Linked DNA regions of Homo sapiens: regions 2, 3, 4, 5 and 6 are each linked to region 1. The links are contacts of gene promoters, found by promoter capture Hi-C in human tissues and cell types (Jung and others, 2019). All regions are on one chromosome and are shown on one strand. The core of a region is centred on a gene start or on the middle of the fragment in contact, and the rest is flanking DNA. Distances in the headings are between cores, read along the strand shown. Region 1 holds the start of WNT5A (Wnt family member 5A). Region 2 overlaps CACNA2D3 (calcium voltage-gated channel auxiliary subunit alpha2delta 3). Region 3 overlaps ERC2 (ELKS/RAB6-interacting/CAST family member 2). Region 4 overlaps ERC2 (ELKS/RAB6-interacting/CAST family member 2). Region 5 overlaps ERC2 (ELKS/RAB6-interacting/CAST family member 2). Region 6 overlaps LINC02017 (long intergenic non-protein coding RNA 2017).

What was found. Contacts are between HindIII fragments. The study calls those that stand out against the background at their distance.
Region 2: a contact is called between a fragment that was not itself captured here and the fragment with the promoter of WNT5A in region 1, in 1 of the 25 tissues and cell types used here (IMR-90 fibroblasts).
Region 3: a contact is called between a fragment that was not itself captured here and the fragment with the promoter of WNT5A in region 1, in 2 of the 25 tissues and cell types used here (H1 embryonic stem cells and IMR-90 fibroblasts).
Region 4: a fragment that was not itself captured here is called in contact with the fragment with the promoter of WNT5A in region 1 in 1 of the 25 tissues and cell types used here (H1 embryonic stem cells).
Region 5: a contact is called between a fragment that was not itself captured here and the fragment with the promoter of WNT5A in region 1, in 2 of the 25 tissues and cell types used here (H1 embryonic stem cells and mesendoderm cells).
Region 6: a fragment that was not itself captured here is called in contact with the fragment with the promoter of WNT5A in region 1 in 1 of the 25 tissues and cell types used here (IMR-90 fibroblasts).

The regions. Positions count from the first base shown.
Region 1 is chr3:55,485,573-55,489,562 of GRCh38, reverse strand. WNT5A (Wnt family member 5A) reads left to right here and starts at 2,257. Exons shown (of 5, transcript NM_003392.7): 1 at 2,257-2,583. The coding sequence starts at 2,578. It overlaps WNT5A-AS1 (WNT5A antisense RNA 1), which reads right to left and starts at 1,945. Exons shown (of 2, transcript NR_046656.1): 1 at 1,684-1,945; 2 at 1,255-1,573. RefSeq lists enhancers at 1-122, 123-633. The HindIII fragment of the contact is 9,126 bases long and covers 1-3,990 here.
Region 2 is chr3:55,065,795-55,069,784 of GRCh38, reverse strand. The region is part of intron 35 of CACNA2D3 (calcium voltage-gated channel auxiliary subunit alpha2delta 3); the gene reads right to left. Among named protein-coding and RNA genes, the nearest start is that of LINC02017, 110 kb to the left of the region's middle. The HindIII fragment of the contact is 5,644 bases long and covers 1-3,990 here.
Region 3 is chr3:55,879,050-55,883,039 of GRCh38, reverse strand. All of the region lies in intron 14 of ERC2 (ELKS/RAB6-interacting/CAST family member 2), which reads left to right. Among named protein-coding and RNA genes, the nearest start is that of MIR3938, 28 kb to the right of the region's middle. The HindIII fragment of the contact is 7,322 bases long and covers 1-3,990 here.
Region 4 is chr3:55,817,343-55,821,332 of GRCh38, reverse strand. All of the region lies in intron 14 of ERC2 (ELKS/RAB6-interacting/CAST family member 2), which reads left to right. Among named protein-coding and RNA genes, the nearest start is that of MIR3938, 33 kb to the left of the region's middle. The HindIII fragment of the contact is 3,158 bases long and covers 48-3,205 here.
Region 5 is chr3:55,790,243-55,794,232 of GRCh38, reverse strand. The region is part of intron 14 of ERC2 (ELKS/RAB6-interacting/CAST family member 2); the gene reads left to right. Among named protein-coding and RNA genes, the nearest start is that of MIR3938, 60 kb to the left of the region's middle. The HindIII fragment of the contact is 5,182 bases long and covers 1-3,990 here.
Region 6 is chr3:55,179,765-55,183,754 of GRCh38, reverse strand. All of the region lies in intron 1 of LINC02017 (long intergenic non-protein coding RNA 2017), which reads right to left. The region is part of intron 2 of LOC124906243 (a long non-coding RNA gene); the gene reads left to right. Among named protein-coding and RNA genes, the nearest start is that of LINC02017, 3.6 kb to the right of the region's middle. The HindIII fragment of the contact is 6,692 bases long and covers 1-3,990 here.

The DNA.
Region 1 (3,990 bases), core at 1,008-3,507:
GGAAGGAGGCCAGGGCTGGGGAAGGGTCCAGTCGGCTAGGAAAATTAAGGAATGGGAAGGGGCTGTGGAGGGTGGAACGGCATCGCTGGAGCCTGGGCCTGCGCCCTCTGGGGTGTGGGGGTGGAGGTGGGGGAGGACTGGAGGAACAAAACAAAACAGCCACCACACCAAAACACCTAGGCCACGGATTTTTCGCCTTAAGGTCAAGTGCATGCCAATGGACGGAGAAAATTGAATAGTGTGTGTGTGTGTGTGTGTGTGTGTGTGTGCGCGCGTGTGTGTGTCTTCACCTTTGACAGCTGGAGAATGCAGACGGCGGAAAATAACTATTACGCTCCAGTGTGAGGCACTGTTTGTGGGGTGGGGCCCTCGGCGTGCTGGAGGTAGCGGACACAAATCCACCAACCCTGCCCCTCCGGAGTCCCCAAAACCACGGGCATCTGGAAGCGTCTAGAAATTCCGGTGCCCGGAACCCGGTTTTGCCAAACTTCGCAATCTCCTCACCTGAGGGCACCCGCCAAGATCTCCGTGGCAGGACCACGCATCGCGCCTCATGCTCTGGGCCGGAGCCAGATGAGCAATCATGCATCCCACTACCCAAGTCCCTACTACTCTGGGGACTTTGCAGGAGGTGAGCGCCTAACCCTATCCATCAGCCCCAGTGCTTAAGTATCCTCCCCCAGAGGTAAGAATGAGGAGGTCCCCCATGAGGTTCCATGTCAAGGCAGCAGTCTCCGTGGAGCCCCAGTGGGAGCGGTCTGGGATACGCGGGCGAGCCAAGGGGTCCAGGCGGGGAAGTTGGGGTTCAGCCTCCCGCCGGTCGGTGGCTCTGGAAGGAGCGCAGACAACCAGGCGGCAGGCAGGCAGCGGCTGCGGAGTGGACCTCTCTCTTTCAGCAGATGCCGCGGGGGATGGGGAACTTAGAGAAGGGGAGACAAGGAGAGTGTACCCCGCCTCCCGGCACCCCAGCCCGTAGTACGGCTTTAAAATCCTGCAGAGTTTGTCATAGGCCGGCCTCACCACGCATGCGCATAGCAAAGTTGAGTTTTTTCTTTCTTCCCCCCCCTTCCCTCTCTCTTTCCAGCCGCCCCTAGTTCTGAAACTTTAAAGAACTTTTTTCTTTCTTTCTTTCTTTCTTTTTTTTTTTTTCTTCCTTCTGAGAACACCAGGGGAAAGAGGAGTCTGGAGAGAGGGAGGGAGAGAGTAAGGCAGTTGGCCAGAAGGGCTGGGGGGTGGGAGGGGGGGACGCGTCCCCGCGGTCGGTCAGTCTGTTTGCGGGGCACAGGATCGCGTGGAAATCTGCTGCGAGCTCCACGGAGCCGCCTCCGCCGCCCAGAGCCGGGGTCCGTGCGGCAGCTGCCCAGCGAGCCCTTCCGCCGCCGCCGTTGTGCCCGGGACCGCCCGCCTCCCGCCGGCCCGCTCTCCCGCCCCTCGGACCCGGGCGCCAAACGAGGAGGTGGGCAGCTTCGCCGGCCATGGACCGCCGGAGCTGAGTCGCCGCCGCGGAGCTCCGAGCTCTCGCCCTTCCCCAGCCTCGCGCCCGCGGTGCACTCGCTGCTCTTCGCCCTTCGCCCTGGAAAAACGGGGAAAAGAGAGATCAACCCGAAGAGAGAAAGAACGGGATACGTGGTGGGGGGGGGGAGCCCGCGTCTCCCCTGGGTTAGTCGCACCCCTCCAGCTCACCGCACAGCAATAAGTTCCGGGGCGACTTTCACCTATTTTGCTCCCCGTTTTTGCCGAACCCTAAAATGAAAGGACACAATTTGGGGCTGACTCTTGCAGCTCAGATGGCGACTTGTGCGTTTTCAGCGGCATCTCCCGGAGAAAAAGCCATGCGCGCCTGATTGTTCTGTGGCCCCAAAGCTGCAGCGGGGGTGTGTGTGTTGGGGTGTGTGTCTGTGTGTGTACAGAGACGTCCACACTAACTCGCGGCTGCAGGATCAGCGTCTGGAAGCAGACGTTTCGGCTACAGACCCAGAGAGGAGGAGCTGGAGATCAGGAGGCGTGAGCCGCCAAGAGTTTGCAGAATCTGTGGTGTGAATGAACTGGGGGCACCTGGGCGCACAGATCGCCCCCCTTCCCCCGCCCCGGGCCACAGTTGAGTAGTGGTACATTTTTTTCACCCTCTTGTGAAGAATTTCTTTTTATTATTATTTGTCGTAAGGTCTTTTGCACAATCACGCCCACATTTGGGGTTGGAAAGCCCTAATTACCGCCGTCGCTGATGGACGTTGGAAACGGAGCGCCTCTCCGTGGAACAGTTGCCTGCGCGCCCTCGCCGGACCGGCGGCTCCCTAGTTGCGCCCCGACCAGGCCCTGCCCTTGCTGCCGGCTCGCGCGCGTCCGCGCCCCCTCCATTCCTGGGCGCATCCCAGCTCTGCCCCAACTCGGGAGTCCAGGCCCGGGCGCCAGTGCCCGCTTCAGCTCCGGTTCACTGCGCCCGCCGGACGCGCGCCGGAGGACTCCGCAGCCCTGCTCCTGACCGTCCCCCCAGGCTTAACCCGGTCGCTCCGCTCGGATTCCTCGGCTGCGCTCGCTCGGGTGGCGACTTCCTCCCCGCGCCCCCTCCCCCTCGCCATGAAGGTAGGTGTTCAGTGCGCTGCCACTTTTTTTCTTTACTTCCCCCCACCCCCTGTTGGAAGTTAACTGAGTTCCCTTCGCCTCTTCCTATCCCTCCATTTCCCCAACCGCCTGAAGAAGCTGGAACTCCAGCGTCGCTGGCAGGAACCCCTACCCCTTCGCCCTCCACGCCGGGCGCACTGCCTCAGTGTCCCAGGAGATCACTTCTGGTCGCACCACCCGTTCTGCAAACAATTTTGATTTTTGAGAAAAAGTGGGGAAGAGCGATAGTAGACAAACTGAGTGCGGTTCACTGACGACTTTCCTTTTGCTCTGAGAACATCGAGTGTAATTTACTATGTATATTTCAGTAACAGGATAATGATTCAATTCAACAAATATTTACCAAGCGCCCACTGCGCGGGCACCGGGACGGTGTGTGGCCGGGGCTCGGGATGGGGAAAGGGACTCCTTGGTTGAGAGAACCCGCAGAGGAACTAGGGGCCAACTACTCCAGAGCGGCGTACACCTTCCCCGACACCCCCCCGCACCGACGGAGGCCAGATTGTAGGCTTGCCTTGGCCGAGTAACTCGAGCGCTTCAGGCCCCTTTGCCTTTAAGAGTGCCTGGCGGGGGGCCAGCGCGCACCCCGGCGCGGGGAGCGGGGTCGCGTTATTAGCATTATTAGCCGCCACTGGGTGAGCTCAGGCACTTTGCAGCAGTGGTGGGGGCGGGGAGTTGTGGTGGTAGTGGCTGTAATCCCGTACTCCGGGACAGCGCTCCCCGGCCCCCTGAGCGGAGTCCGCCTTGTCCTTTAGAAAACACTTGGGCCTCCGCTTTGGGAGAGCAGGCGGGGGCCAGTTTGCGAACTCTTGTTTGTTTTAATTGTCAGTTGTATGTTAAAGCCGAATCACACACTCCGAGGGTCACTGAGAGTTCACTTTTACGAAAAGTTAACGTTTCTTCCTGCAACATAAGTTTTTATTTTCTAAACAATTTTTCTTATCTGTCCTCCAAGCTTCGATTCCTATTTCCATTTTTCTGGTCTTTCCCATTTTAAGTTTCTTAGAAAATAAGGTTAGAATTGAAATTAAGATGTTTCCTGGAAGCAAATAACCCCTCTTCCCCCCAAAAAGTTAAAAAAAACAACAACAAAAAACTTCAAGTCTGGAGACCCCACGGCCCTGTTTGACTTTCTAATCCCTGTCTGGTATCGAGGCCCCTTCTCCTCTCTCGCCTCTCTTTTCTCTCTTCTCTCTTTAAATGGGTAATTCGCTGTTTGGAAGTAACTTGGGCCTTGCGGTGAGGTCGCACCTCCTCAGCCCCTGCCCTCCCCCCAGCCACCTTCGCACATTCACTGCCGAACCAGCCAGATTTAGTTTCTAGACAGACTCTGCCAGGGGAGTTTCGAGGGGGCAATGCGGAGAGTGC
Region 2 (3,990 bases), core at 557-3,056, 420 kb after region 1:
TCTACATTTGGCCAAGCTATAAAAATCATGAGCAGACCAATTGCCATGAACAAAACTGAAATGCTCATTGAGAATCTACCCCCAGGTGAATTCTACCCAATCAATCACCCAGAGAACAGATATTGCTGTGTTCATAGAAAACCCACATGAACCCACTGACCAACTACTAGAACTAATAAAAGAACTCAGCAAGCTGGCTAGTTACATAATCAGCATATAAAACCACAGCCTGACACTGGCAATAACCAACGAAAAATATTTGTGAAATAAAGAACCATTGATAGTATCAATAATCAGTATAAAAGGCCCAAGAATAAATCTAGTAAAACATATGCCTTAATGAAGAAAATGATGCAAATTTACTGAGGAACATAAAAATACTAGCTAAAAATTGGAGGGAAGTACAATGGTGGTGGAAAGGAACACTCATATTTTAAATATGTCATTTCTCTCTTAATTAACTTTTTAATTCAAAGCAATTTCAATAAAAATAGGATATTTTATGGAATTTGAGAACATGATTCTAGGATTCTTTCAGAAGAGTAAATATAGAGAATAGTCTGGACAATCATAAAAGATTGGGTTTTATAAAAAAGGGAAGGGCAGTTGCTTGCCATATCCAGCATCGAAACTCGTGAGACAATTCATAGAAGAGGAAACACAGATGAGTAACAAATAGGTAAAAGCGGGTTCAATCTCACTAAAAATTAGAGAAGTATAAGTGAAAATAATGATTTGACTAGGACATGGGTAAAAATTTAAGTCTATGATAATATCAAATAATGGAGAAAGTCTGAAGAAATGAATACTCTTCTATACCACAGGTGGGAAAGTGAAACTTATAGCTACTATGAGGACAATTTGTTATTATTATAGTGGAAATCTTTTACACCCTATTTCTCTGTAGTTTTACTTCTCAGTAAAGTAAACTCATGTTCAGAACCCAAGAAGTCATGTACAAAGATGCTCTTGGTAGCAACGTTCACTGTAAGAAAGAAAAAGCAAAAACCCCACCTAAATGTCCAACAATGGGGCAATGATTGAATAAGCAAGAATATGTCCACTCGGTGGTCTTCTTGGCACCAGGTGACAGGGTGAAGAGGATCTCTATTTACTGTCATGAAAGGAGACCCAAGACGTTGAGTGGGAAAATAATGTTGTAAAACTATACGTAAAGTACCAGTATTTAAGAATATTTAGGACTATTTAAGAATATTTAATTCTGCTACAGAGAAACAAGAAAAATAAATGAGATGGATAAAACTTATAAGATGTATTAGGTATAGATAGCACTTAAGTGACCCATGACTCATGTTAGACTAGAGTAAATGGACTCAATAAGTAGAGCGTATGCAAGTTGAACAGAAATAGTAAAGGAAGAACATATGAAGTGTCTTCCTATAGAGAAGAAGGAAGGGAAGGACCACGTAAAATTAAATGCGCTCAATTCTTAAGGCACAGACCTTGTTGTCTCTAGGTTGATGATAGCTCTCTCCTGGCTCATCCTTAAATTAACTCACTGGCAACATCCATTCTCTGCCTGAGACACACAGATAAATGTGTGGCTGCTCAGGAGGTTACAGGCAAGCTACACACTTGCCCTTGCACCTCTCCAATAAGGCAAGTGTGTGCTGGCTGCAGGCACCTTCTGCCTGCTTAGGCCCTGTTCCAGACTGAGGACCCTCAAGTGTGGTCCTCCTCGCTACACCATCAGTGGGAGACAGAGCAGGAGAGGGTGGAGACAAGGGAAGGGAAAGGAAGGGAAGATGGGAGAGAGAAGAGGAGAATAGAGGAACAGTGCATAACACAGGTTACAGGGAGGGAGATCCTCCGTCCTCTTTCCCCTTGCTTCTAGCCATATGCTTTAAATGAATTCAATCAGCCAAGTGATTTGAGCATCTTAATTTCTTGGTAAGGCTTTTTGTTTTGTAACCTCTAGGATTACTTGCCTGGTAAGTAGTTGGCATTTATACATAAAGTGAGTACAAAAAAAAGACACATTTCTATAAATTCTTTATATATCTATCGCTCTGTCTTTATGTATGTATGTATGTATGTATGTATGTATCTAATGCATGGATGTATAAATAAAGGTCAGGAAGGTTACACACCACACCAGCAACAGTGGTTACCTCTGAAGAAAGGACTGTGACAGGGAGTAACTGTCAAGGGACACTTGAACTCCATCTGTAACCCTGAAGTTCTCTACAAGGAGAATGTATTAATGTCTTCTTAAAACAAGTATAAAGTGAACTGTGAGGGTCAAGCCCATTTTACAAAAGAGAAAACTGAAACTCAACGAGGATAAGTAAACTCTTACCACAGCTATATGAATAAGATAAAATTATGCCCATTTTACAGATAGGGAAACAAAAAACTAAGTACCTAGAGTAACCGGGGCAGAGCAGAGGTTCAAACCCAAAGTTGCAGCCCTCCGGAGCCCAGGCTAGTGTGGTTCTTTTGCCACAGGCAGCAGACTGTCTGTCTCGTGCTGGAACGATTAGAGCTCAAACTCCTTGAGGACAGACCCAGAGTGATCACTCAGTGCAGATGCTTAATGACAGCAAATGCAAGATAGCATTGTTTTCAAAGTCCCACAGCCAACTTTCCTTCTTTCTTTCCCAAATCCTAGGAGTTGAAAAGCCCTGAAAGCAGCTACACTGAGAGGAGAAAAGCCCCCCCCGCTACAAAAGATTGCCAGCGGAAAGATTAACTACTTTTCCATATTTTAAAGACTTACTGTCTGCTTATTAACATGGTGCTTCGGAGGGGCCTGGGCAATGTTAGCTGTACATTTATGTGTACAATGTGTATTTATGGCCCAGGGTGCAGGGTTGAACTTCATAAAACACACCTCCATCCAGCTGGGCCCAGCAGCCAGGCTGACATCATAGTCAGAGGGGCTGTGGCCTGGTGGGTTTGCCTGGGGGCCAAAAAAGGCGAGGAGGGAAATGCCTCAGCAGAGAATCACAGCGGTTGTTTCTAAGCAGGGATAGGTCAAAATGCGTGAAATAAATTAGGTCCTCGAGGGAAAGGGAGTTGGGAGAGGGAAGCAATTTTGATGTGTCCATTGCCAGAACTGAAATAATCCAGTCCTCCCTTTCCCACTCACTACAGACAGAGGAAGAACTGGAGGGAAAAAGATGATGCGATTTCAAGACAGCCTCCCGTGACAAGACAGAGTATTTGCCGCACACTATCTTCCGAGAGGGGCTTTCCTGAGCAAATGATGAAAGCGATCACCATGCCTCCCTCATACTCCCTCCAAACAAGCACGCGGGATGGGGAGGAACGCAGGGATAAGATCCCCCGAGGACCACAGGATTGCACATGTGGAGAGCTTGTTTGGCTTGCCTTTCATTAAATGGGTACAAAACTGTAGCTTGAAAAATATTTGGTCAGGATAGAATCTTAAAACGTTTTGACCCTAGACTGAGGTATTTCACCCTTTATAGATTTTTACCCTTTATATAGATTCTCCAGATTTTATCCAAAGATAAAATGAAAGCCAATGAGTCGGTCCCAGGGAGCTACTGAATTTGGCACTGGCCCTGTTCACAGTGTCCTGTTCCCCGGCTGGATGGAGCACGTGACTGTGGCTCTCCACCAGGATCCTGTTCTCCTTGGAGGTGGAAAGTGGCCCTATCCCCCACCTGCCCTGCCCCAGCAAGCACCAGGTTTCCCTACATGGACCTGGGCCCATAAGTTGAGAGCAAACATTTGGTGACTGTTTAAATTAAAAGGAAAGCTTAATTATTTTGTATGTGTTCTAGCATAACTGGATAGCCATCTTATGAGACAGTAGGAGGGAGGTGGACAGGAAGAGAAATACACAAATATTTTCTCCTTATGATTATTGATGCAATGATCTCAAATGAAATGTAGTAACTAAACTTCAGCAGGACATTGAAAAAGCAACATAGCATGCCACAGTGAGGATTGGCCTAGAAATGCAAGTGAACAAGATTATTGAGTGGTCCCAGCTTAATG
Region 3 (3,990 bases), core at 903-3,402, 390 kb before region 1:
AAATGAGTGAAGGAAATGAATAAACAAATAAGCAAATAAATGAATAGATAAATAGATAAAGTAGTTTCTTATGTAACCAAAGAGGTTTGGAATCCCACTTAGAAAGTCATTTCCAAAGGTAAGGACCCTCTTGTTTATTTGGGGCATGGAGGGACATGGAAAGTGTGGTGTATTTTCCTGTAATGTGGGAACACTTTTAGGAACTGAGGCCAACTTGATTCAAAAGGAGAGCCTTGATTCTATAGTCATCCCTTGGTATCTGTGGGTGATTGGTTCTAGGGCCTCCTTTAGATACCAAAATCCACAGATGCTGAAGTCCCTGATATAAAATGGCATAGTATTTGCATATAACCCACGCACATCCTCCTGTATGCTTTAAATCATCTCCTGCCTTCTTATACCTAATACAATGTAGATGCTATGAAAATAGTTGTTACATTTGTATTGTTTAGGAAATAATAGCAAGAAAAAAAGTCTGTACATGTTCAGTGCAAATGCATTTTTTCCAAAAATATTTCTGATCCGTGGTTGATTGAATCCACAAATGTGGAACCTATGTATACAGAAGTCCAATTGTATACATGTGTATGATTATTTCCCTCAACATTCCTGGCTTAGTCCATTTAGTGTTGCTATAAAGGAATACTGAAGCTAGGTAATTTATAAAGAAAAATGGTTCATTTGGCTCATGGTTCTGCAGGCTGTACAAGGAGCTTGGTGCCAGCATCTGCTTCTGGTGAGGGCCTCAGGCTGCTTCCACTTACGGCAGAAGGGAAAGGAAAGCTGTATGTGCAGAGATCACATGGGGAGAGAGGAAGCAAGGTGGAGATGAGGGAAAGAGCCATGCTCTTTTTAACAATCAGCTCTTTCAGGGAAACTAGCAGAGTGAGAACTCACTCACCCCCAAGGGAGAGGGCATTAATCTATTCAAGGGATTCACCCCACAACCCAAACACCGTTTTCCCATTAGGCCCCACCTGGGATCAAATTTCAATAGGAGTTTTGGAGGGGACAAATATTCAAACCACAGCAATACCCTTCTTCAGTCTGGTCTTTATTGGTTGATATTCTAACTGCCAGTTATTATTCCTCTGCTGGAAGAAACTAACAGTTACCAACCATATATTTTCATAGTACATAATATTCACCTTTCCTTGTGTATAAGATTATTCTTGTACTTAAAATATATCCAAAACTTCTTGCTAAAACATTTCATAATTGTTCAATTTTGTTACATTTACTCCTATTTTAAAGGAATTTTATTAAAAGCATATTAAGAACATCATTTTATGTTTGATTTTATTAATGCCAGCTAATAAGCTTACATTCCAGTAACAAAAGCCCAGTTATTTAATTTATGGCAGGTGGAGTTGAAATCTGTGGCTAAAAGAAATTGAGGGCCATGAGATACAGTACTTAAAAATCTGTGTGCATTTGCTTTGACGATTTAAACTACTATAGTAGTTTAATAGGTAGACAGGCATCCTAATTGATATTTTTCATTTAGTATAAAATGCTAAGTTGAATAAGGGTTTTGATACCTGCTTAATAGTCACATATTTTGAAATGTTTATTTTAGACTTTCTGTGGTGATTTCCTATGCTTATACAAACATTTTCAGCAGGCCCCTTTGTTTTTAACTCATCTGACGATATGGTGCAATTCATCTTAATTTACTGGGTATTGTTGGGTTTTAGACGTCTTCTCCAGATAGCCTCACAAGTCTTTGTATACACTGGATTATTTTAGGACATTTACAGTGAGGTAAGACAGCAGCTTATTCGAGGGCATTATCCTGTTGGCCTCTTTGATCTAAGATCCTTTCTGAGAGAGCCACTCATTAGGTAAGTACCCTTCAAAGGAGAGCAAGGGTGCAGAAATGATAAAATCAATTTATTTTTTACTTCATGCCAACATGAGAAAAGACAAATCACATTTCTTTAGGAAGGAATCCTAAGTGCCTAGCAATTTGGACAGGATAAATGGAGTTTGGGAGAAGAGTTTTGAAGCCAATTGTTACTTAAAATTGATAAACTCAATAAACAAGAGGGTTGTGCTAGCCCACAGAGATCTTATGGGGATTGACTGAGATTATAAATTCATGAGAAAGTGATTTTTAACCCACAAAAGGCTATACATATATTAGTATGTTAGGTACATTCATTACAGTTAGCATACACTAATCCTGTCTTTAATTTACAACTTGGCCTTCTCCATTCAAGAATTTCTTTTTTTTCTTTTTTTTTTTTGCTATAATACTATTCTTTCTTTAACCAGTAGTTTATTGAGAAAAACTTTAACATGTCCAATTTTAAAAATATTAAATACTATGGTAATGTGTCCTAGAATGTCCTGTTTGTCATCTGTTTCTGTTTACTACCTGCTCAGTTCCAACAGGTATTTAAATCAGCTAGAACACTGATAAAGCCTATTGCAGCTTTCTGAGTTACCTGTAGTGAGTCAGGACAGGTAGCAGAGAGGGAAGGAATAAATGTCACAAAAAATGACTCATTCAAAACCAATTTTGGTTTTAGCTGCAGGCAGTGACATAAATGCACAGTTGCTTACTACTCCAGATTTCTGTTTCCTTCTTTTAACTCTGAAGTTGATGGCTTATAGTCTATAGCAAAAACAAAACAAAACAACAAAAAAACTATGCTGAACATAAAACTTATAGTGGGTAAGTAAAACTTAACTATAAAGAAAATAACTTTAGAATAGAGGAATGTTCTAGTTAGCTTCAAATGCAAGAATCAGAAAACCCCACATTCCAGAAGCTCATACAAGTAGCTTTGTAATCACTAGGGACTCACGTTCCTTCTGTCTTGACATTTTGCCATTTTTAGCATTTGCTTGCACCTCTTAGTGTGAGACTTTTGCTTCAGTTCCAGCTATCCAATCCCTATTCCAACCAGCAGAAAGGAGGCACGAGAAAGAAACCTCCCTGTCCTTTAAGTTACACATCCCATCCATTGACATCTGAGTCATTTCACAGTTTATTCAATATTTGCTGAGCATCTGCTATGTGCAAGCACTGTTCTAAGCCCTAGGCAGTTATCTAAGCCCTGTTCTTAGTGAACAGAAAGGACTCTATGAACAAAAATCCTCCTGTTGGTGGAGCTTATATTTTACTAGATGTGAGAACAAGTGTGGGGGAAGGGGCCCACTGGCCAGGGTTTTAAGCCACATGGTCATACTTAGCTTCAAGACCAAGCAGGGAAATATAGCCTTTAGCTGCATTCTGGGAATCCAGTTCTAAGGAAGGAAAGGAAAGAATGGATATTGGGGGCAATTGGCAGTCTCTGACAACATGAATAAAGTGTGAAGAAAAATAGGTCAACTGGTATGTTATGTCACTTAGCAGTAAAAAACAACTTTGCAATTACACCTCTAGTCTATTCCTAACAGACATGTATGTGTATGCATGTATGTTTAGTGCATATCTGAGTTCATTTCTGGGTACCATGGTTGGTAGACTGTGAGGAGGCATGTAGTGAGTGAACAAGTTGAGGTATTCCTGAAAATCTCTTTGTGCTGGGGATAGCTGACCTATAAGGGGTATTAGGTCCAGAGAAGTCCAAGAAGACAGATGCTTCTTTTAACTGTTAAGGAAGTGACTGTAAGAAGAAAACTGGGCTTGATTCATGCTGCCTCAGATGACTGTGCTAGAGTTGGTAGGCAAAATTTGAGAGGAGGAAGATTTTTCTTTTAGTGCAAAAGAACTCTGTAGCAGCAGGAACACTCTCACCTGTTTTGCATGCTGCAGAGGAAATTTTCATCCCAAGTGAAAGGCAAAGGCAATCTCCAAGACCCTCCTGTATGTAATTCCACTAAATAAATGCCCTGTCACGTAGATGAAACTTAGGAAATGCTGGGCTCTTTTTCGTTCCTTCCCTTGAGGGACTTAATTTGAATGCAGAAACTCTGCCAAAAAAAAAAATTAAGAAAAAGAAAAAAAAAGAAAAGAAAAAGAAAGAAAAAAGAAAGTTA
Region 4 (3,990 bases), core at 377-2,876, 330 kb before region 1:
CCCCTCTACAGACCACAGTGGCCGGCGAGCCAGAGATGGGGTCATTTTGGTTTTCAGATTTTAACATGGGGAATAACTTTTGGCAGTCCTATTGCACACCTATTCTTGTTAAAGCAAGCAATCATCTGGAGGAACAGTAGGGTTTCTCCTCCACATTCATCAGTCTAATCTCACTGTTCAGTTGATGTGGTTTCTCCTCTCCCCCTCATAAAAGGATTCATTTTCAGAAGAAAAACTCATTTTGAAGGTTTCTTTTTTTTACCCCTTCTTCACACGCTCTAGCACCCTTCATACCTGTCTCTTTTCCTCATTCTGTTTCCTTCCTTCTTCTCTTGCTCTCTCCCATTTTTCTTCCCAACACTGAACAAGCAGCCAAGGAAACCTTCAAGTTATAAAACATTAGCCTGACACTGGGGCTAAGAAGGCTGTCTCCCTCTCCGTTACACTTATGCCAGCGCAGTAGCTTGGCCCAGGGCTCACTAAATGTTCCTTGAGTGATCAGATGGTTGAACAAATGAATGAAGCAATTAATGATTTTGTATAGATGCATCCTGCAGAGCAAGCCTCAACTCCCTGATTCCATCTTCTTGTTTGAACATTTTCTCACCCAGAGTAGTGACCTATCTGGTGCCCTGCCCGGCTTGGAGATCTGGCTCCACTACTTACTCGCTGTGTAACCTTGGGTATGCTACCTGATCTCCCTGTGCCTCAATTTATCTTCTTTAAAATGGGTAGAGCGAGTCTTTAAAGCAGTCTGTTAAGAGCATCGGTTGAATACACACACGCTTTCAGAATAAGGTCAGACACCATAAGTGCTCAGTAAGTGTTGTTATTAAAATTTTGAATATTATAACTAAGTTTATGAGCTCACGTGAGTTGATTTCTGTGACAACACTTTAAGTGTAAGGCTTATGGCAAAGTTAATAATAATTTATTTTCACTGAGTTGCTTTGCTTTTTTTGTTCTACAAAATGTTAATTCTGTAGTTCTGGTCCACTCCCGTTCTGAGCTAGTTTTTCTTGCATTACTCAATGTCATCAGGCCAAAGTATTTACTCCCTTATGCCTCAGAGAGTCTGCCTGAGGTCCTTGTTTCTCAATGCTGTTTTGTGGCTCCACTCTCTTTTATGGATGTGAAGAACCAGAAGGAACTCCTAACCCCACCCTCCATGTGGGGCTCCACTTCTAGACCCCACGTGGACACCTGACACTTACTCCTGAATGCTCAGCATCCCATTTCATGGAGCTTATTCTCCAGACAGCAGTCTGCAATGGGCATTCTGCTAGACCCCTTTAGGAACAACCTCATGGGCACAATTATCCACTTGCCCCCTCAAAGTGAGGTGAAATTGCTAATTACACCTGCAAGAGGCTAATTGGGAACCCCCCTCCATTGCACGCAGCCAAAATGCACCTGCAAGTAATTAACTTCAGATGCCCAAATTGTACCCACAAGAAAGGAGAGGAAGCCCAGGCTGAGACCCCAGCCTCTCTGAAAAGGTTCATGTTTCCCAGGTTTGAGTTGGACCCTTTGGACATCAAACGGGGCAGAGAAGGCTTCTGTGCATGGCCATGGAGTCTGGTGCAGCATTCCAAAGCGGCACTTGTCTCTGCCGTCCTAATATCATCATTGTCTAATAGATGCTATCCCACAAGTGGGAGAACAAAAATGGGCTCCAGAGCCTTTCCTTTCTTTTCTCTCTGTGTGTGGTAGAGAATTTCCACTCACCACATGTCCCTCTATTATATCTTTATGGAATCTGCCAAAATAAATAGTGTAGTTCCTTTATTTTTAGTTGGTATTGCACAGGTTCTTCTCAGATTAAGCAGTCAAAGGTCAGGAAAGTTGAGATGAACCATAGTTTTAAAACCATTGTACTGCATAAAGTTATTTATAGAGGAGTTTTCATGTATAGACTTGATTAAAAGCTGAGGATATTTGCTCAACAGAAAGGCGAAAAACCATCATTATCTGATTTTACATGGAATTCAGTGGCTGCTAATCAAACCCTGGCCTGCATCTGGTTAAGACATACTTGGCACTGGCTTGTCACAAGTCGAGGTTTTGCCATGTCAAGGGATCTTTCACTCAAAGCGGTGACCCATATTGGACTGAACAAACACACGAGTTTTTAATCGAGAACAATAGTTTAACAAACCACTTCCCAGGACCATTGAAAGAAAAGTATGTGCCCATGGCATTTCTGGCACCAAAAGATGTTTATTTGAATGCATTTACTTTAAACCATAGCCGAAAATGCCCAGCAGAGAAGGACCATTAAGAGCTAGTGCAGAAAAATGAATTTCTATGGAGTGACCCACACTAGCTTGCACCAGTGCCAGCCAATCTTGCAAGGTACTCTGGTATCTGTAAAAGCTTGTTCCTTCCTATGTGCCCAAGTAGACATAAAGATACTTGTGGACTTGCGGAAACAAGTTATATACATTAACTCTGAAATGCTTTCCATTAGAAAATATTAAACGTATTCCTTCTCTGAATCCATTAGAAGTTTCTTTGCTGAATTGTTGCCAGTGAATCTATGTAGTGAGTTTGGAGGCACTTTAAAAATAAGAAGCATTTCTAACAATTGGTGAATGCTAGGCATTGTGCTAAGTGCTTCAGCTGCCTTGTCACATTGCACACACGTAGCACCCCTCTGTGGTTGGTGGTGTCAATGCCTCCATCTTGCAGAAGTGGAGAACAAAGTCAAGATAGTTAGGTCACTTGCTAAGTATCCCAGCTTGCAAGTAGCCAGTGAGAGTTCACACCTAGATTCATCTGAGCAGAAGGTCAGCTTCTGTGTTTCTGTTTTTCTTTTGAAAGAAGAAACATTCTTATACTGTTGTACTGTGTGTTTCATAGAAATCTTATCAGTGTAATAGCATTTGATAATTGCTGAATATTTGATCTGGAGTGAGATATACATTGATATCATTCATCGAGGTATAAAAGTTAGTAGTACTGTACTGTTTTTTAATTCTGACTTTTAGGATTTATTGACTATTTCAGACTCCTACTCTATTCTGATGAAATGAGAGGCACTTCACTATGCTTTTACCCAGGGCAGGGACTAGGCTGATTTGGCTGTGAGGCCCCAGCTCTGAGTGTGGAGCTTGGCACACAGAATCCGTGTTGCATAAATGTCACCATAATGTATTGAAACATTCAGGGTATGGTCTCCTTCCAGGACAGCTCTGGAAGGTCTTGGCTGTTTTGCCAAAAGAAAGGAGGAATTTCACTTGACAGTCCCATCGTTCAGACCTTAAATCTTACTTATGATCCCCCAGAAGTGAGGTGCCTCGTGAAAGAGGTGCTGACAAGCAGTCAAATGGCTGGCTCGAAAGGTCAATAAGGAGAGGCCAAGTTTGAGACTTCATCCAGTCAGAGAACTGGAAGGCTGTTCCTTTAACTCACCTGGAGCTGCTCTGTCCTCATCAGCTGGAGGTTTGCCACTACAGAAAATAATAAGATGATAATGGTGATAATGAGACTAACATTTACTGAAGGCTGTTTGTGTTCCAGATATTGTTCAGAGCTCTTTACGTGCGTTATTTCATTTGATCCTCACCATGAACGGATACTATAAAATGGTCTACCTGACAGATGAAGAAACTGAGACTCAGATAACTTAACTGCTTTGCCTTGCAAGTGACTTGTGAATAAAGCAGGTGAATTCAGAAGTTCTTTTGGCCCCTGAGCCCAAGGAGATAACCCCTACACATTAGTGCCTCAACCGAGGTTTGGGAGTAGTTGACTTTCTAATAAATATATGAGTCAATTCAGGGTTATTCTTATGACAATATAAATATCGCTTATTTGCAACCTGAAATGCTTTCTAGAATGAAAGAGGAGAGGTTAGACGTGATGAGCTGAAGGCCGCCCATCCCTTGGGTGAACTCTCAGGAGTGTCCAATTGGGGATGCTGTGGCACAAGTCAAGGCTGAGAGGCAGCAGAGGGCTGCCCACCTCACTGCTGGAAAGGCTCAGCCA
Region 5 (3,990 bases), core at 630-3,129, 310 kb before region 1:
GCACCAGATAGCAAAAGGAGTTTCTTATGTGTGATTTTCTATAGATAATGGATAATTCCTTTGACAGCCCTTTCCAGCAAATGCAGATGTGGTTTTCATATCACTGTCTCCTACAATGACTCCCAATAAAAGAGGGTGCCATAACATTAAAGTGCAACTCAGAGAAGGGACATTTTGTGAGAGTACTAGTTTTTATTTCCATATTGTGAAAGGTACATGGTTTTGCTTTTAATGCTTATTTTAAAGGTCCAGAAAGAAATTCTAATCTGTGTGCCTATGTTGCAGAGATCTGGCACTATTTCTATATCTAGGCAATTACACAGGGATTTTACTTGAACACATCCAAATTTTTAAAATTTCCACTCACCATCATCTTTTAAATTTCATGAAAGCCTCGAGCTACCATTCAAGTTTTTCTATTGCTCTCTGTCTCTCTTTGTTCATTAGTGATGTACTGAGGTTTTAAGTAACTTGATTAGGTGTAGACGGGGGCCCTAAATAATACGATTTTTCATAGGAAGTGAAGTGTTATCCCTTTTAACAGATTCAGTGTAAATTATTTCTGCTTTATCTAGGCTCTTTTGTTTTTAATTTTAATTTTCTTATTAACAATGCAATCTGCTATTATATTTATATCATCAATATGTCAAAATAACATGAGTTGTGAAATAATCATAACAACTCTTTTTTAAGTCTCCCACTGCCCCTCTAAACTTTAAACAGTGAAAGAAACCTTCCCTATAGCACTGAATAAAAACTTTGCAGAACCAGTATCTTTTCTGCTTACTCTTAGGCAAAAACAGTCCTGCAGTGACTATAAGTCACAGACATTCTGTAATTAGAATGTTCACCTGGCTTTTTTGATCAGCAAATAACCATCAACCTCAACACATTCAAAAGGGGATGTTAATGACTGGTTAAATCTATTTGCTTAGAAGGCTAAACCAGGAGTTCTCACCTTTTTGTGTTTATAGCATTCTTTCAATTTGTATTATTAAAAATATTTGCAGAGTACCTTGAACGAATTAAATTGCATCTACATCAGGAAGCTAAGGCAGGAGAATCCCTTAAACCTGGGAGGCGGAGTTTGCAGTGAGCAGAGATTGCGCTGCACTCCAGCCTAGATGACAGAGGAAGACCCTGTCTCAAAATAAAATAAAATAAAATAAGTAAATAAATTGCATCCACAGTTATCTTAGCACAAATATTGCTATTTGGACCAATCTATATACTCCCCAGGGCTCAGGGTTATAGCATCACCAGGCATGGTTCACCCGTTGTCAGGAAACACAATAATTTCTGCTGGTGCTGACTTGACATTTGTCTTCCCTCTCTCATTTCTTAGTTGCTAAAAATGACACTGTACTCTACACCCAGAATCCACCAGCTCTCTATTCCCTGGAAGACATGGTGGTCCTTAATGGAATAGAGCCTCATTTGTGGCTATTGAAGTGCTGCCAAGGACTTGGTTTCAACTTCTTAGCTTTGGGAAATTCATGCACATTCATTTGTTCTACATTTTGGGAAATAATAAATGGAAAAGTTGTCCGGGATCCAGATTGCATTGAGGTGCTTAATTTTATTCACCTTTCCATTACTATTGTTGGTCATTGCATATTCACCTTCACATTTCATTGCTACATTCCATAGACAACAAATGGAAATCAAAAGGAAGTTCTTTAAACAAATGTTTATTGAAGGCCTATTGTGAACTGAGCACAGGGGCTGGTGATTAGGTGTAAGAAGGGAAGTGATCTGCTCTCTTAATTTTAGCAGAAAAATAAACATTTGTCAACAATAAAATTATATATTAATAAGATAATGGCTTTTAAATGCCTAGCTTTGAGAGCTAGGCACACAGTGACTTTTAAATGCCTAGCTTCGAGAGCTAAACAATACCTTTCTCCACCCTCTGCCTTCTTGCCTGTTCCCATTATTGGAAAGGTTAGGGGTTTCTTTTCTAATTTTTCAGTTTTGCTGAGTTAGCAGTCAGTGCAATTTACCCAGTCTTAACCTCAAAGATTGCAAAGGGGAGCTGGTGAAATATTGCACAAGCCTAGCCTTGGTTTAGCCATGAATTATGCATTGTGTACTTAGACTATTATAGTCTGTTATAGTCTGTTTATCTGTTGACTTCCACCAAGATTTAGGGGTTTGTTGTACTTAATAACTTGCTTTATTTTGTTTGACATGTATTTTATGTCCTCCATGTGCATGAATACATAAGATACACAGTCGTGGGTGAGGGTCTGGAGAGAAAGCCCAGCCTTGAAAGATTAACTTTGAGAACTCTGGAGTAAAAATGTTCACATACTCCTTACTCTTGCAGAGTGCTAATCAATAGGAAGGTGGATCAGATTTTTCCATGTTTTTTCCCCACTAGAATACAAAACAGTTAAATAAAGGGCAGAAAAATGAATCTGGATTCCTTGTATCTCTGAATTTTTGTTCTTAAAGCTGGTCCTTAAATTAAAAAGATGTCAAAAGACATTTAATTCATTCAGTATTGACCACAAATAAGAATTTCACTGTTTTTGACTACACTCTAATTTTTCATTCGAGTCCTATATTCAAAATTGTGCCTGATGGGTTAATATGGATTTTTGCATGTCTTGAAAATAAAAGCAGTTTTATGAAGATTATAAGATTATGAGATGACATTTGATTTTAGCTTGACCTAAAAACATCTCAGACATTTCTCAGCATACATGTGTTTGAGTTTTAGAATTCTGAAGCTGTTAAAGGACAAAAACAAAGTGGAAAAACATAGTAAGATTTTCATATTTAATATAGTTCATTACATGTCTGCTGTTTTATATATATATACTTATATATACACACATACATATCTCCACATACATAGAGATATGTACCTATCTTTTATGTCTGTTTATAGTTAGCAATTATTTCTGGACTTTTAAAAACTTACTTTCTCATTTCCATTCTGTTTTCTTTTTTGGAATTTAAATGATCTTTATCAAAACAGAGATCTCTGCCTCTAAAGGCTCTCCAAGTGGAATTAACTGTTTACCCAGCCCCAATTTTCATTTACTTCCTCTTCCCACCACAAGTGCTTGTGTTATCTAGAACAAAATCTCTTTCCCCATATTTAGTCACAAAGAATTACATGAATGCCTAAAATAAACACTATTTAATTTGTGTAACTCCCTGCAATTTTAAACAGTTCTCCTTGAGTCTCATGATGACCCTGGTTGACAAGAAGAGGAAGCTGAGGCCCAGGTGGGTTACCCACCCCTGCCCAAACTCACACCCATCAGGAATGGAGGATTCCACCTTTTGAAGTGAACTTGGTCTTTTGACTCCAGAGCCGAAGCTCTTTGCTGAGCTCTGTATTGCCTTTGAGTCGAAAACCAGGAATGAAACAAGGGTTCCTTGAATGTTTACCATTCATTCAGTAAACATTTATGTACTATGTGCCAGACATACGGTAGGCATGGCTGCTGTCCACTGATAAATGAAAAGACATTAGTCCCAAGCTTCACTGAATTCACAGTCTGGCTAGGGGATGGGCCATTGTCTGGGTTGGGTTTCCCCAGAAGTTGGCCTTCAGACAAGGATTTGAATACAAGTAGCTTATCTGGAGGTGGGGGATAGTAGGGTTGTTATTCACCCTCCATTTTCCTTCCGCTGTTATCTGAGGGATGCTCTTAGGAGCATTAACTTCTGGTGCTCCTGGCCTGTATGTGCAGGGCATGCCAAGAAGAAGCCCACAAGTAGAATTGCTGGTGTCAACGGTAGGACTCTGTTGACAAGTTCTGTGCTATTGAGTGCTGACGGGATGAGGGTGAGGCACTGGCCAGGGCTGCTAAAGCAGGGAATGAGATCTTAACTATGATTACTGTATTGTGGGGGGCTACAGGAGAATAGAGGGGCCCTCGGGGAAGCGCTTCCAGAGAAACTGGCAGCTCCCTAACACCTGCAAGGAAGCAGAAGTAGCCCAATGAAGGCCATGAGGGAGGTGCTCTAGGC
Region 6 (3,990 bases), core at 1,111-3,610, 310 kb after region 1:
TGAGTGGTGTCCTGTTCAGAGCAGGACATAAGTTTCATTCCATGAAAGGAAACATAATTAATTCCACTTCCATCAGCACATCAAGAGGATGATTGGTAACTCACCTCCTACCAGCCCTGGCTGCAAGGGAGAGGTAGCCCAAGGGAAGTGACCCTTTATTGGGCCTGTGCTGGTCTCTGGCTGGCCAGGGAAAGCACACACCTCCACACTCCCAGACCCCTCCACATCCCCCTGGAGCCTGTCAATGTTTTAGTTCTGTCCTTTTTCCACTCTTGGGAGGACAACAATGTGTCTCCAGGTCCTGCAGTCTGGGTTTGATTAAATAATTATAAACTCCCAGCAGCAGGTCTATCATTTATGTCCTGAAACATGCCAGCATGTGTCTTTTGTGGCCATGCCAGCCAATCATAAAGTCACTCTCCTTATTGTCACTAAGAACACAGTGGTTCAATGTTTGTGCTTGTTCCTGGATTTTGGCTATAGAATGTTGCCCAGCAGTTTGCTGCTGGTGCCAACATCACTACAGAACTTCATAATAAATCCTTTCTATATTTATTCAGTCCAGTGTTCTGACACTGAAATTGCCTTTTATGAGCATATGATCAGAGGCTTCCATTTTCCACTTCTAACTCGGGGCGATTATATGTTCTAACAGAAAAGACCTCAAGGCTTGTTGTCCATACATGCAGCATGGCATGGGGACTGCCAACTGGCTGGGGGAAAGTAGGAGATTGGAAGTGCGTGAGAGCTGACCTTTTACCCCACGCAAAGGAAGCACAGAGATGATCTCTTTAATCCATTTGGTTAAAATGTTTAAAATTTTCCACTTCCTCCACAACTAAAGCCCAAAATAAAGTTGCCCAAGCAAGGCAGTAATATTTCATAGTAACATGCCATCTCCTACAAAAGGGCAAGGGGAGAAGGGGGAGGTAGGGATACCATTTAATTGAGTTCAAGAAACTTTTAAAGAAATGTTTTTCATTCTTGCCTTAACTGAGTCACAGGTGATCTCTAAATGGCTCCAATGTTAAGTATATCATATCAACCAAAACTAGGAAAGCGACTGAAATACCTGAATGGGAAGCCTTTTTCTATTTTTTATGTATATGAAAAATCTCACAATAATTCACATGGCCAGAATGACCTTCTACTAATGACAATTTAAGAAGAGGTCTCTAGAAATTACGATGTATAAAAATTTAGCAATGAAACACAGCCATGTTTTGGAAAGAGAAAGATGTGTTCTTTTTTGTTTTGCATAGTTCTGTACAGGTTCAGAAAAATATGAGTACACATGGCCTATATGTGTTTTCATTTTTGAAAAACGATCAAAGCCACTCATTTATTGAAAGGAATACAATACACAAAAAGAGATAACAAGGCTTAGTGAAAATAAACTGCATAAACTGGAGGAAGAGTACTGGAATAACAAAATAAAACCCATCAGTCGTTCATTTTTCATCACTGTCTTTCGTTTGCATTTACATTTCCTGAAATGCCATGGCATCGTATCAGTCTGCAGATGAAATGTGAATCTCGAAAGAAGAGTTACTTTATACAAAGGTGGAATCGGTTGAAGGTTGCATGTTTTGTTTTTACTGCATCCTTTAAAAGGATCATTAAAATGTTTCTGCTCAATGCAGATAGCAATAATTATCATTACAGGAAAGGCTTCAGATATTACATTTCACTTTTAAGAAAATGGGTTTTAGAATAAATATTAAATATATTTAAAATATATACAGTTTGACATTATTTTTCAAAATAAAAATATCTTATATTTTCAAAAACTGTAAGTTGAGATTTTGTTGCTTTGTTTTTAAGATTTGAGAACTAACTTCTTTCAGTATTATAATTCCTGGTGACATCACATTTACCCCAACAGTATTCAAATTATATATGTATTTTTGAAAATGAAGTTATTCAAATAAATTATTTTCAAATGTATCAACTTAAAACTATACTACTATTCTAGTGAGACTAACTTAAGTTGGAGACTAACTTTATAATTAATAAAGACATTTCAGTATGAAATGTGTAGTAATATACTGTGACTGCACATTTCTTTTTTTTTTTTTTTTTTTTTTTTTTGAGACGGAGTCTTGCTCTGTCACCCAGGCTGGAGTGTAGTGGCACGATCTTGGCTCACTGCAAGCTCTGCCTCCCGGGTTCACGCCATTCTCCTGCCTCAGCCTCCCAAGTAGCTGGGACCACAGGCGCCCGCCACCATGCCCGGCTAATTTTTTGTAGTTTTAGTAGAGACTGACTGCACATTTCTTTGGGTGAATATTACTGGGGAAAATAGTTAGAAAAAAGAAAACGTTTAAAATAGACCAAGTAGTCAAGAAGATAGAGAAATACAGTTTTTGCCCTCCTTTAGCTTTATATAGGAACTACTTATGCTTGTAAACATGAGAAAGACAAAGAATTCTTAGAGACTAAATGTTTCAAATGTAGAACTTTTAGACATTTGTGAGAAAAGCTGGCTTCTTAAAAAAAGTGCTTTTGACAAACAGTGCTTAAACAGAAATGCAGCCGTGTACAGGACTGTTTTTAGTTAAAAAATTTCAATGTGCCAACCAAAAAGCGATGTAATCGGTAACTGGCCACTAGGGGGCTTTCCTATTGGTCCATTCTTAAAAAGGACAGTAACTAATAATAAACAAACTGCAAAGATGTACTCCAATATTTTCTATCATACACATAGAAATAGCTGATTAGGAAGTGACAAGAGTCTGGCTATCCTATCATCTGGTTATTTAGATAGTATAAAAGTATTGATTAATTTTTTGCTTCTTCACTAAACAGAATTTTTTTAAAAAATCAACTGCTGTTATTTTGGGGTTTGTTTTTAGTTCAATAATGGTTGTTTTATCTGCTTCGCATAATCTTCTTTTGTTTTATTGATTTTCCCCAGAGATGAAAATAATGAACTTAATTTAATCCAACCAGTACATTGATTCAGTCTGTTTACTCAGATTAACCTAAACAGATATGCTAGCTTGTCAGAGCCTATGTTCATCATCTCTTTTGACAACTCTCCAAACTGTGGTCGTGTTGAGATCCAGTGGCACCATGGTGTGGTGTTCGATCAGCAAACCTTTGTTGAGCATTTACTATATACTGGATGCTGTGCTTGGTGCTAGGCTACAGGTGGAAACCAACTTAGTGTCATGGTCCTCACAGAGACGGCAAGGAACAAGATGAGAAAGGAAAGGGGTTTTGAGGAGGTTCCATTTGAGCAGAATCCTGAGTGGTACAAGGGAGAAAGCCATGTGAGTGTGATAGTCCAGAAGGTGGGATTTGGGATTTATTATTAGGAGGCCCGGGGTCAGGTCCCGTCTCCTTTACTCACCAGCTGAGTATGAACTTGGGGAGTTCGTGGACACTCTCTGACTTTGCTGTCTCACCAGGAATGTTAACAGTTCTGGCTCCATTCCCTGCAATTGTGCCTGCACCTCCTCCCTCACCAGATTTTGGGAGGATCAAATGAAGTGAGTGATTTGAGATCACAAATGATTTTTATTGAGTGAATTTTCAACTAGAAAACTTTGATAAACAAGATGCCTTCTTGTCCCCAAGTTTTAAAATATTTAATAATCAATAGCATGAAAAATGTTCCAATACATTAAGTTAACATTGTTTTTGAAAAATATCGTTTTTAATATGAATACATATATGCATAAGAGGGTTAGCCAAAGACATAATCCAAGATAGATATTTCTGGTTAAATTATGAATATTTTCATTTTTTCCTTTTTGCTTTTTGTACTTTCTGATTTTCTGTACTGGCCATGAAATGTTTCACAATAAAATAATATACTAATTAAACAAAATCATAAAGAAAAAAGATATTGATAGAGTGGGTGGAAAAATTCCATTTTCAACCAACATAAAATTTCTCTTTGTAGATGTTTTGTTAAATATTCATGTGGAGAGATTTTCATCAAAATCTTTAGATAATTTTCAAATCCCCACAAAAACCATTAAC